3 separate regions of the Homo sapiens genome follow, and all the other regions are linked to region 1. The links are contacts of gene promoters, found by promoter capture Hi-C in blood cells and fetal thymus (Javierre and others, 2016). All regions are on one chromosome and are shown on one strand. The core of a region is centred on a gene start or on the middle of the fragment in contact, and the rest is flanking DNA. Distances in the headings are between cores, read along the strand shown.

The links. The method cuts DNA at HindIII sites, captures the fragments that hold promoters and counts their contacts. A CHiCAGO score of 5 or more calls a contact.
Region 2: a contact is called between a fragment that was not itself captured here and the fragment with the promoter of FBLIM1 in region 1, in 1 of 17 cell types (naive B cells). The highest score is 5.2, in naive B cells.
Region 3: a fragment that was not itself captured here is called in contact with the fragment with the promoter of FBLIM1 in region 1 in 1 of 17 cell types (M1 macrophages); the score reaches 5.2 in M1 macrophages.

What each region holds. Positions count from the first base shown.
Region 1 is chr1:15,757,239-15,760,227 of GRCh38, reverse strand. It overlaps FBLIM1 (filamin binding LIM protein 1), which reads right to left and starts at 1,433. Exons shown (of 9, transcript NM_017556.4): 1 at 1,380-1,433. The HindIII fragment of the contact is 4,964 bases long and covers 1-2,989 here.
Region 2 is chr1:15,645,217-15,648,205 of GRCh38, reverse strand. All of the region lies in intron 6 of DDI2 (DDI proteasomal shuttling factor 2), which reads right to left. Among named protein-coding and RNA genes, the nearest start is that of RSC1A1, 13 kb to the left of the region's middle. The HindIII fragment of the contact is 3,164 bases long and covers 1-2,989 here.
Region 3 is chr1:15,661,974-15,664,962 of GRCh38, reverse strand. It overlaps DDI2 (DDI proteasomal shuttling factor 2), which reads right to left. Exons shown (of 10, transcript NM_032341.5): 10 at 1-2,989. RSC1A1 (regulator of solute carriers 1) reads right to left here. Exons shown (of 1, transcript NM_006511.3): 1 at 2,930-2,989. Among named protein-coding and RNA genes, the nearest start is that of RSC1A1, 3.8 kb to the right of the region's middle. The HindIII fragment of the contact is 520 bases long and covers 1,198-1,717 here.

The DNA of each region.
Region 1 (2,989 bases), core at 184-2,683:
TTTATTTTGAGACAGAGTCTCATTCTGTGGCCCAGGCTGCGCAGTGGTGCGATCTCGGCTCACTGCAACCTCCGCCTCCTGGGTTCAAGCGATTCTCGTGCCTCAGCCGCCGAATAGCTGGGATTACAGGCGCGCGCCACCACACCCGGCTAATTTTTGTATTTTTAGTAGAGACGGGGTTTCACCACGTTGGCCAGGCTGGTCTCCAACTCCTGACTTCAGGTAATCCGCCCGCCTCGGCCTCCCAAAGTGCTGGGATTACAGGCGTGAGCCACCGCTCCCGGCCAGCTTTGTTCTTTAATGACCGGATAAAGCAGTCTACCTTTGGGTACGGAATTAAATTTAGGCAGAAGTGGCGGGGTGTGCCCCAACCCCTCCCACCCTGCAACTTAGGGGAGGGGTTCCCTCAACCTCTTTCCCACCCCAGGGAAACAGAGGAGGTAGAGAGCTGGGTTCACACGCGGCCCCACTTCTTTCCTGCGGGGTGACCCCGAATAGGTCACAGAAACTCTCTGGCCTCGTTTTTTCATAAAGTGAGAATGAGTGTGTCCCTAGGGCGGCTGAGAGGATATATAAGGAAAGAAGACTCAGGGTCTAGGCCCTTGGAAGGTGCAAAGAGAAGGACAGCTGGTTAGGCAGCAGCTGAGAGGGAGAAGCAGCCCGGGGGCTGGGCTCGGCTGGGGGTGCCTCCAGGACCCGGACAGAACCTACAGCGTCATTAAGAGCAGGAATCTGGGCGCGGCCCCAGCCTCTCCCCGGGGTCCTCAGGCTTGGGTGGGAGGTGAGGGGTAGGGGCCGACGCCAAGATCATCCCAGGGCACACACCTGGGTATCGCCCATCTCCACACCTTCTCAGCCCCCGACGGGCGCGTGAGGCCCAGAGAGGAGCAGCCCCGGGACCCGTCCCTCCCCTTGCCTGACCCTGGCTAGGAAAAGGGGCCTGGAGCGCCCCCGGGCTCCGGAAACGCGGGACCCTCCGCAGGCAGCCGAGCAGGGCGGCCGCCGGGGTCACCGCTGGGCGCCGCCGGAGCTTTAATTCGATCCATGTGCGGGACTCCGGCCTTTTGTGCGGGAGCTTCCGCCCTGCGCGCCGGGTCCCCGGCTCCCGCTCCCGGGCTGGGACTCGGCCCTCCGCCGGCCTCACTGAGCCCTCGCCCCGGACCTGCCGACTCCCCGACTCCGGGGAGAGAGACCAAGAGACTGGGACGCAAAGGGCGTGAGGACCGCACCCCCCACCCGCAGGCCCCTCCAGGGGCGCCGCGCCGGGGGTCCCGGCTGGCGACCGAGCAGGCTCCGGCCGAGCACTGCCGGCGCTGTCACCTGTGTGCACCGGGGACAGGGACGGAGGGACGCGACCCCCACCCACCCGGCCCGCTTACCTGGGCCGCCCGCGCCCCGGCGGCTCCGATCCGACGCCCGAGCCAGCGGAGCCCGGAGCCGCTGGGCCTCCCGTCCCCTCCGCCCGTCCGCCCTCCCCGCCCCCTCGGCTCCCTCCGCCCCGCCGCCCCGCGCCGCTTTACCATAAAAGGTGAGGCTCGGGGGGAGGGGGCGCGGGATTCCCGCCCCGCGGAAGCGGCCCCTACCTGCCCCCCAACCTGCCCGGCCGCGCCCCGCGCCGCCCCTTCCCCCTCCCTTTGTTCCCTGGACGACGCCTCCCCTCCCCCTTGGCACAGGCCAGGGGGTGGGAATGGGGGGGAATGGGGATGGGGGCGATGGGGGAATGGGAGGGATGGGGAGTGGGGGTAGGAGAATGGGGAGTCGGGGTGGGTTTCCTTCCCTCCCCGCTGCCCATCCCCTCGCGTTCTTCATGGACCCCGAGTGGTCCCTGCCGTCCCCCTTCCCTCGCTCTCCTGGGTTGGCAACCCCACCTACCCTGTCCGGCGGAGGTGAGCGCTTACTTTGGCTCTGGGATCCGCCAGGGTCTTGCGTCAAACCGACCAGGGTTCTGCGGCCGTTTACTAAGCGTGAGACCCGGAGCAGTCACGCCACCTCCTGAGCCTCAGTGTCTTCATCTGTAAAGTGGAGGTAGCCACTGCCTACCTCTCCAGGTTGGCCTGAGGATAAAAGGTGACAGTTACAGCCAGGACTGTGATTAATAGTGGTTAATATATGCTGGGTTGGGGGCTTTTTCCGGGAGTGTTCCTGAGGGTGGGGGTCTCGGAGACCCCCAGTGGAGCAGGTCACCTTGTTCTGCTCTCCTGAGCGGTAAGCCCTCTGCAGGTGGGTCCCGGTGTCCCGGGGGACAGGCCGCTCCAGGAGCTCTGGAAGGCAGGGCCCGGCTGGCCCTGTGGCTGAACCCCTCCCTCCACATCCAGTGACCCTCCCCCTCCCAGCTGGAGCAATTAGGACGGGAGCGGGAGGGGAGGCAGAGCCTGGACTCTGGGGCCCGGGATGGGGCCGGGATGGACTGCCTGGGTCCCTGGAGGCCTCAGGGACATTGTGGGGAAAGGAATCTGGGTCTGATTCAGAGGCAGACAGATTGTTCTTTTGATTAAAGCCACAGTGGCTGAGGCTTGAGGAGCGCTGGACCCAGCGCCATCTGCGGGGTGGCCAGACAGGATCTGGCCCGTCCTGCAACCCCTCAGCTACAGTCACCCCTCCAGGGTGGCTCTGGGGCTGTTTCTGAGGGAGGCTGGTTTATGAGGGTCAGAGGAGGCTGCCTCCGCCCTCACCCACTGATCATCGCCCCTCCCATCCCTCTTGTCGCCCCTTTTCCCATTTGATCCTCTCAGCCAAGCTGCAGTAACAGCAGCAGTCCCAGGAGCTGCCATTGATAGGGGCTTTCTAGGTGCTGGTACCCATCCTCATCCCCATCCTAATCCCACAAGAGCCATGAGCACCAGGGCTGATGATTCCTGTTCACGGTCAAGGACACTGAGGCCCCGAGAGGCTCAAGGCCACACTAGGGGCAAATGGCAGAGCCAAATTCAAACCAGAGCCGCTGTGTCCCTGGGCACACAGCTCTGCTAGTCTCAAGAACAGGTACCAG
Region 2 (2,989 bases), core at 166-2,665, 110 kb after region 1:
GAACCAGTTTATGGTATTCCTGCAAAACTCTTAGTCCTACTGTGTTTAGGAAAGTGTAAGGTAGTTGAACTATCTTTATCCTACACAAATCAATAAGAGAAACACAAAGACCCTAATAAACAGACATACATATTTCAAAAGAAAGGAAGAGCAAATGTGCAGAAAAACTATCATTTACAATGAAAGAAAAGTAACTTACAATAAGAAACCACTCTTTTATTTGTAAAAAAAAATTTTTTTTGAGAAAAGAGTATTGCTCTATTGCCCAGGCTGAAGTACACTGGCATGATCTCGGCTCACTGCAACCTTTGCCTCCCGGGTTCAAGTGATCCTCTCACCTCAGCCTCCTGAGTAGCTGGGACTACAGGCGTACGGTCATGACAACCGGCTAATTTTTTGTAGTTTTAGTAGAGATGTGGTTTCGCTATGGCCCCCAGGCTGGTCTCAAACTCCTGAGCTCAAGCAATCTGCCCACCTTGGCCTCTCAAAGTGCTAGGATTTCAGACATGAGCCACCACACCCACCTTATTTGTAAATTTAAGAGGGAAAACTAATATTCCTTAACAGTATAGGACACTAAGATGAATATTCATTCAGTGGTGGATAAACTGGATTGGTACAGGTTAGCAACATATCAAGAGTCCTAAAGCATCCGTAACTTTGATTCAGTAGTTTCACTTATAGGAATCTTGACTAGGGGGAAAAAATCAAAATGTGCAGAAAACTATACTGCCATGTTCTAATAGGAAACATCACCAGCCAGGCGCAGCAGCTCACGCCTGTAATCCCAGCACTTTGGGAGGCTGAGGCAGGCGAATCACTTTGAGCTCAGGAGTTCGAGACCAGCCTGGGCAACATGGTGAAACCCTGTCTCTACTAAAAATCCAAAAATTACCCGGGTGTGGTAGCAGGTGCCTGTAATCCCAGCTATTCGGGAGGCTGAGGCAGGAGAATCACTTGAACCTGGGAGGCACAGGTTGAAGTGAGCCAAGATTACGCCACCGCACTCCAGTGTGGGCAACAGAGTGAGACTCTGTTTCAAAAAAAAAAAGAAAAAGAAAAAAAGAAACAACCCAAAAGCTGATCCTTAAACCTGCAACAGAATGCTATACATTTATTCATTTATTTAAATAATTCTTTTGAAATTCATGGTGACATTGGGAAAATGTTGTTTCACTTTTTCTTTGAGCAGAATATAAAATTTTAAACAGAAATAATCACCTTTTATAAGATAAAAAAGTGCACAGAAAAAAGACCAGGAGATATGCCCAAATGATACTGGTGGTTGATTCTCACTACAGGAATTTAAGGGATGTTTTTTTCCTTCATCTCACATTTCTATACTTTTGAAGTTCTCTACAGTAAGCATCTATTAAATGGATAATGGAAGAAGAAAACAAAAACAATTCTGATTAGAGATGAATGACTGAACACATGCATTTATCTACATTTACTCCTAAAACATTGCAAAAAAGGTTTTTGGGTTTTGTCTAAGGCACACATTTTTTTTTTTCTTTAGAGATGGAGTTTCACTCTTATTGCCCAGGCTGGAGTGAAATGGCACAATCTCAGCTTACTGCAACCTCTGCCTCCCAGGTTCAAGCGATTCTCCTGCCTCAGCCTCCCGAATAGCTGGGATTACAGGCACCCGCCACCACGCCCGGCTAATTTTTGTATTTTTAGTAGAGACAGGGTTTCACCATGTTGGCCAGGCTGGTCTCGAACTCCTGACCTCAGGTGATCCACCTGCCTCGGGGTCCCAAAGTGCTGGGATTACAGGCATGAGCCACCATGCCCAGCCCTAAGGCATACATTTTTAAGGCCAAATATAATAGTAGAGACCACAGGAACAAAATTTTAGAGCTAAAAAGCAGATGACAGTGAGGAAAACTGAGCAGTAACCCAACTGACATCACAGAACTCCTATGGAGCATAGGAACTGGTCATAAATACTTCTGCAGATAGGAGGAGAGATGGACCCAAAGCAGCAAGGCTGGCGGGAAGGCCGCAGAGGCACAGTTAGCCCTTGGGGTGTCCCTCCCGCACTCTGCTAGGCCAGGAGACCCTTCACCCCAGTAGCAGACTAGAGGCTTATTTTCTGGAGAGGGTGAAACAGAGGCACTCTTAACAGAGGTGAGCATGGAGGGAGACAGGGACAGAACAAGTATCCAACTGAAAACCAGGGGGAATAAATAAAATCCAACTGAGATGCCAGCCTTTTTCTCCCTCCCAACTTTCAGACCCACCCTACAGTGAAGGCCACAAGAGCCATGGCTGCCTACCCAGGTCATTTACCAAACAAGCCTTTTGGTGGCCCACTCTTTTTTTTTTTTTTTTTGAGACGAGTTCTCATTGTCATCCAAGCTGGAGTACAGTAGTATGAACACAGCTCACTGCAGCCTCTATCTCCCTGGCTCAAGCAATCCTCCTGCCTTAGCCTCTCGAGTAGCTGGCACCATCGGCACTTGCCACCACACCCGGCTATTTAAAAAAATTTTTTGTAGAGACGAATTCTCCCTATGTTGCCCAGGCTGGTCTCAAACTCCTGGCCTCAAGCCATCATCCCACATGAGCCTCCTAAAGCACTGGGATTATAGGTGTGAGCCATCCCGGCCAGCCAGTGGCCCACTCTTCAATGTGAGCTGATGCCAAGGATCACAAGACATTTATGAAAACCATCTAAAGTAAAATACAAACAAATACAAAATCCAACACAAAGGTTGGAAGACAAAGTTGAAGAAATCCCACAGAAAAACAAAAGAGAAGAAAACTAGAGGACAAGTCCAGGAGAGATTATCCTACCTGAATAACAGACATTCCAGAGGGGAGAAAATCATCGTCAAAATAATTCAGAGAAAGTCCCCAGAACAGAGGGATGTGAGCGTCTAGACTGCACAGGTTACCAAGTACCTAGCACAGTATATGAGAAGAGATCCACACCCAAGCATGCATTGTGAAAATTCAAAACACTGAGGTCAAAGGGAAGATC
Region 3 (2,989 bases), core at 208-2,707, 95 kb after region 1:
TGTGTTAATAGCTGAAGCCCAAACTGTGGGATGAAGGCTATTGGCTGTCTGGAGCCCTGAACAGGTATGAGTGGAAATAATTCTTAACAGCATCAATGAGCAAAATCTATAACCTATGTAAAGCTGCTGTCTGGTTACCAAGCACATCTTTCCGCTCAAGAACCAACTTCAGGGAAATGGCACAAATTACACAGGAAAATCTTCTCTCTCTGGTGAAGAAACAGAGACCGCCCTTGTAGTTAAGTGCTGACCGCAGAACTGCCCACTACTGGTTATGGTAAAGGAGCTGTCCGGTAAAGGTGCCCATTACTGGTTATTACTGTTGGCAACCAGAATTCACAGGGATTTGATGGTATTCTTAGAAGTTAACCCATAATTTCTGCATTTCTGGAGCTCTTAATTGAATAAAAGCTGACGATGAAGGTTCACTATTGTAATGCTCCTTAATATACCCTTTGCATTCTAGAGCTGCTAAATTTAAGTCATCCAAAATATTAACAGTGTCAATAGCTTTTTTTTTTTTTTTTTGGGTGAGACAGAGTCTCACTCTGCCGCCCACACTGGAGTGCAGTGGCGTGATCTAGGCTCACTGCAACCCCCATCTCCCAGGTTCAAGCAATTCTCCTGCCTCAGTCTCCCAAGTAGCTGGGATTACAGGCGTGTGCCACCATGCCCAGCTAATTTTTTGTATTTTTAGTAGAGATGAGGTTTCACCGTGTTGGACAAACAGCTTTATTTTTATAAAAATGATGGGCAAGAAGATTTTAAAAATCAAAAGCAATTATACTTTGGCCTTTATGTAGTCCCAGCTACTCAGAAGGATGATTAAGCCCCAGAGTTTGAGTCCAGCCTGGGCAACACTGCAAGACCCCATCTCAAAAATAAAATGATGGAAGGGACAAGGATATTTGGCAAGTGGGTTAAGCTCATTCAGAGTATTCCTAACAGGAATTCATGTACAACTATAGATCTATTCCTAAAAATAAATATACATATACATACACAAAAAGCTATCCTAATGAAATCTTTTCCCGACTGATATTATATATTCCACTTGGAACTGTTTCCCAAATATCCACACTGAATTGTGTGCCAAGGTTCGTTCTGCTTACATGGAAGGCCCTTTAGGAGGGAGTCTATTGTCATCAGTAAGTTCCCCCACCCTTCCCACCCCGTGGTTCCAAAGATTTATAAGCTTAGAATACATTCCCAAACCACCACCCATAAAGCAAATACAGGGTCCCATTGCATTGCTACTAGATTTTGCATCAATCATAGCACCAACTATTTAATTACAATCACAGCTTTAAGTCAGCTGACAGAAATCCTATGAGCAGTTTCCTAGTGCATCGTACATCTTTGGTGTAGGGCAGGTGAAAGGGTCTACAATGTGCAGCTGTCTAAAAGAACATCTTAAAGACAACCTGGCTGACCTGTTGTTCTTCACGCCCTCTGAAAAGCAGTAAACTACAATTCCTTCTGTCAACCATTTCCTAACTACATAAAGGATCATGATGAATCTACGTGACACGCCATCCCATCACTAAAGTCTTATAACATACATACAAACATCATAGCAAAAGGAAAGAAAGAAGTTGGATGGGGTAGAAAAAAATGTCTCTAAGTGCCCCTAAATTAAAATTTCAAAAACTCCTGAGATATGAGCCTCCATTTTGATTGTGCTCAATGACTTAAAATTTGATGAAACAAACAAGCTTACAAAGAGTCAGACTTCAGACAAAATCATTTAACACTAAGTTGAGAAATCACTCTTTCGAAGCTTCTGTTTCAAACATGTTACAAACTATAATCTAGAATCAGAAATTATGAATCTCAAAATTCTTTTCAATAAAACCAAGACTTCAGATTCCTGCTAGGTACCCAAAAGAGCAGTTTGCCAGGAAAGAATTATCTAAAACCTATCCAGTAGGATTATTGCACAGTGGGGCCCACAGGACAATGATTTCCAAGGGCTAGTCCTTATATAAAAAAAGGCCACAATAAATACATCTATATATTATGCCCCACTCTAACTTGACATGGTAAACACAAATAAGATGAATTTTGCTTAAAAAAGAAACTCCTGAGGAAAGAAAAGGATGGAAAACTCTACCAAGGCCACTTAAGTCAGAAACTGTAATTACTATTTCCACTGCCACAAAGGACACTCTCCAAATAGACTGACCGTTCCAAGCACCAAGATTAACCAGTGACAAGGTTATCACACTTAGTATTTCACTCAGATCACAGCTCACACTGAGCGTTTGAAGAACTTCCTGGCAGAAGAGTCTAGAAAGGAAATAAGCTGCTGGCAATGAATCCATTCCTGAACTTAATTCCACCATTAGTCATTAAGGGTTGAGGTGTTATCAGTGAGATGCTAGCAAACCCAAACTCTAGCAAATTCCAGTGTTTAGGCCATTATTTTTCCCTCACAGTTCTTGACATCTGCAAATGGAATTATGGTTGTTCTGTTCTTTTAAGAATCTGGGTAGCACCACGTTTCACTTGCATTGTAACTCCCCCACAATATCCCATCCAATGTAATAAGGATTCATGGCAATCCATGCAGCAGCCTGTGATGCACAAAGTAGCCCAAGATTTAAACCCTCCTGCTCGCCCTATTAAAATGTCAAATCCTAAGCACACAAATAAAAACATACCACTCTACGATAAGATATTCAATTATTCTCCAATTTCCTGTTATAATTAATGAATCATGATACACAGAGCACTGGGTAGAATTCCAAACACCAAATTATGTGGTCAAAAGTTTCTAAATTGACAACTGAGCCAGCAAACCATACCTTGCCATCAGCACAGACACACAGTCACAGTGTGGAGAGTTCATCTGTTTTTAGCTGGATGGGTAGTGGGATTTCTCATGGCTTCTGCTTTTCAAAGCATTTACTCTCATTCTAAAACAGTATGCTACACACAAAACCATCCATTTTATTCCAGGATACATCTTAATGAGAATAAAAAGCTT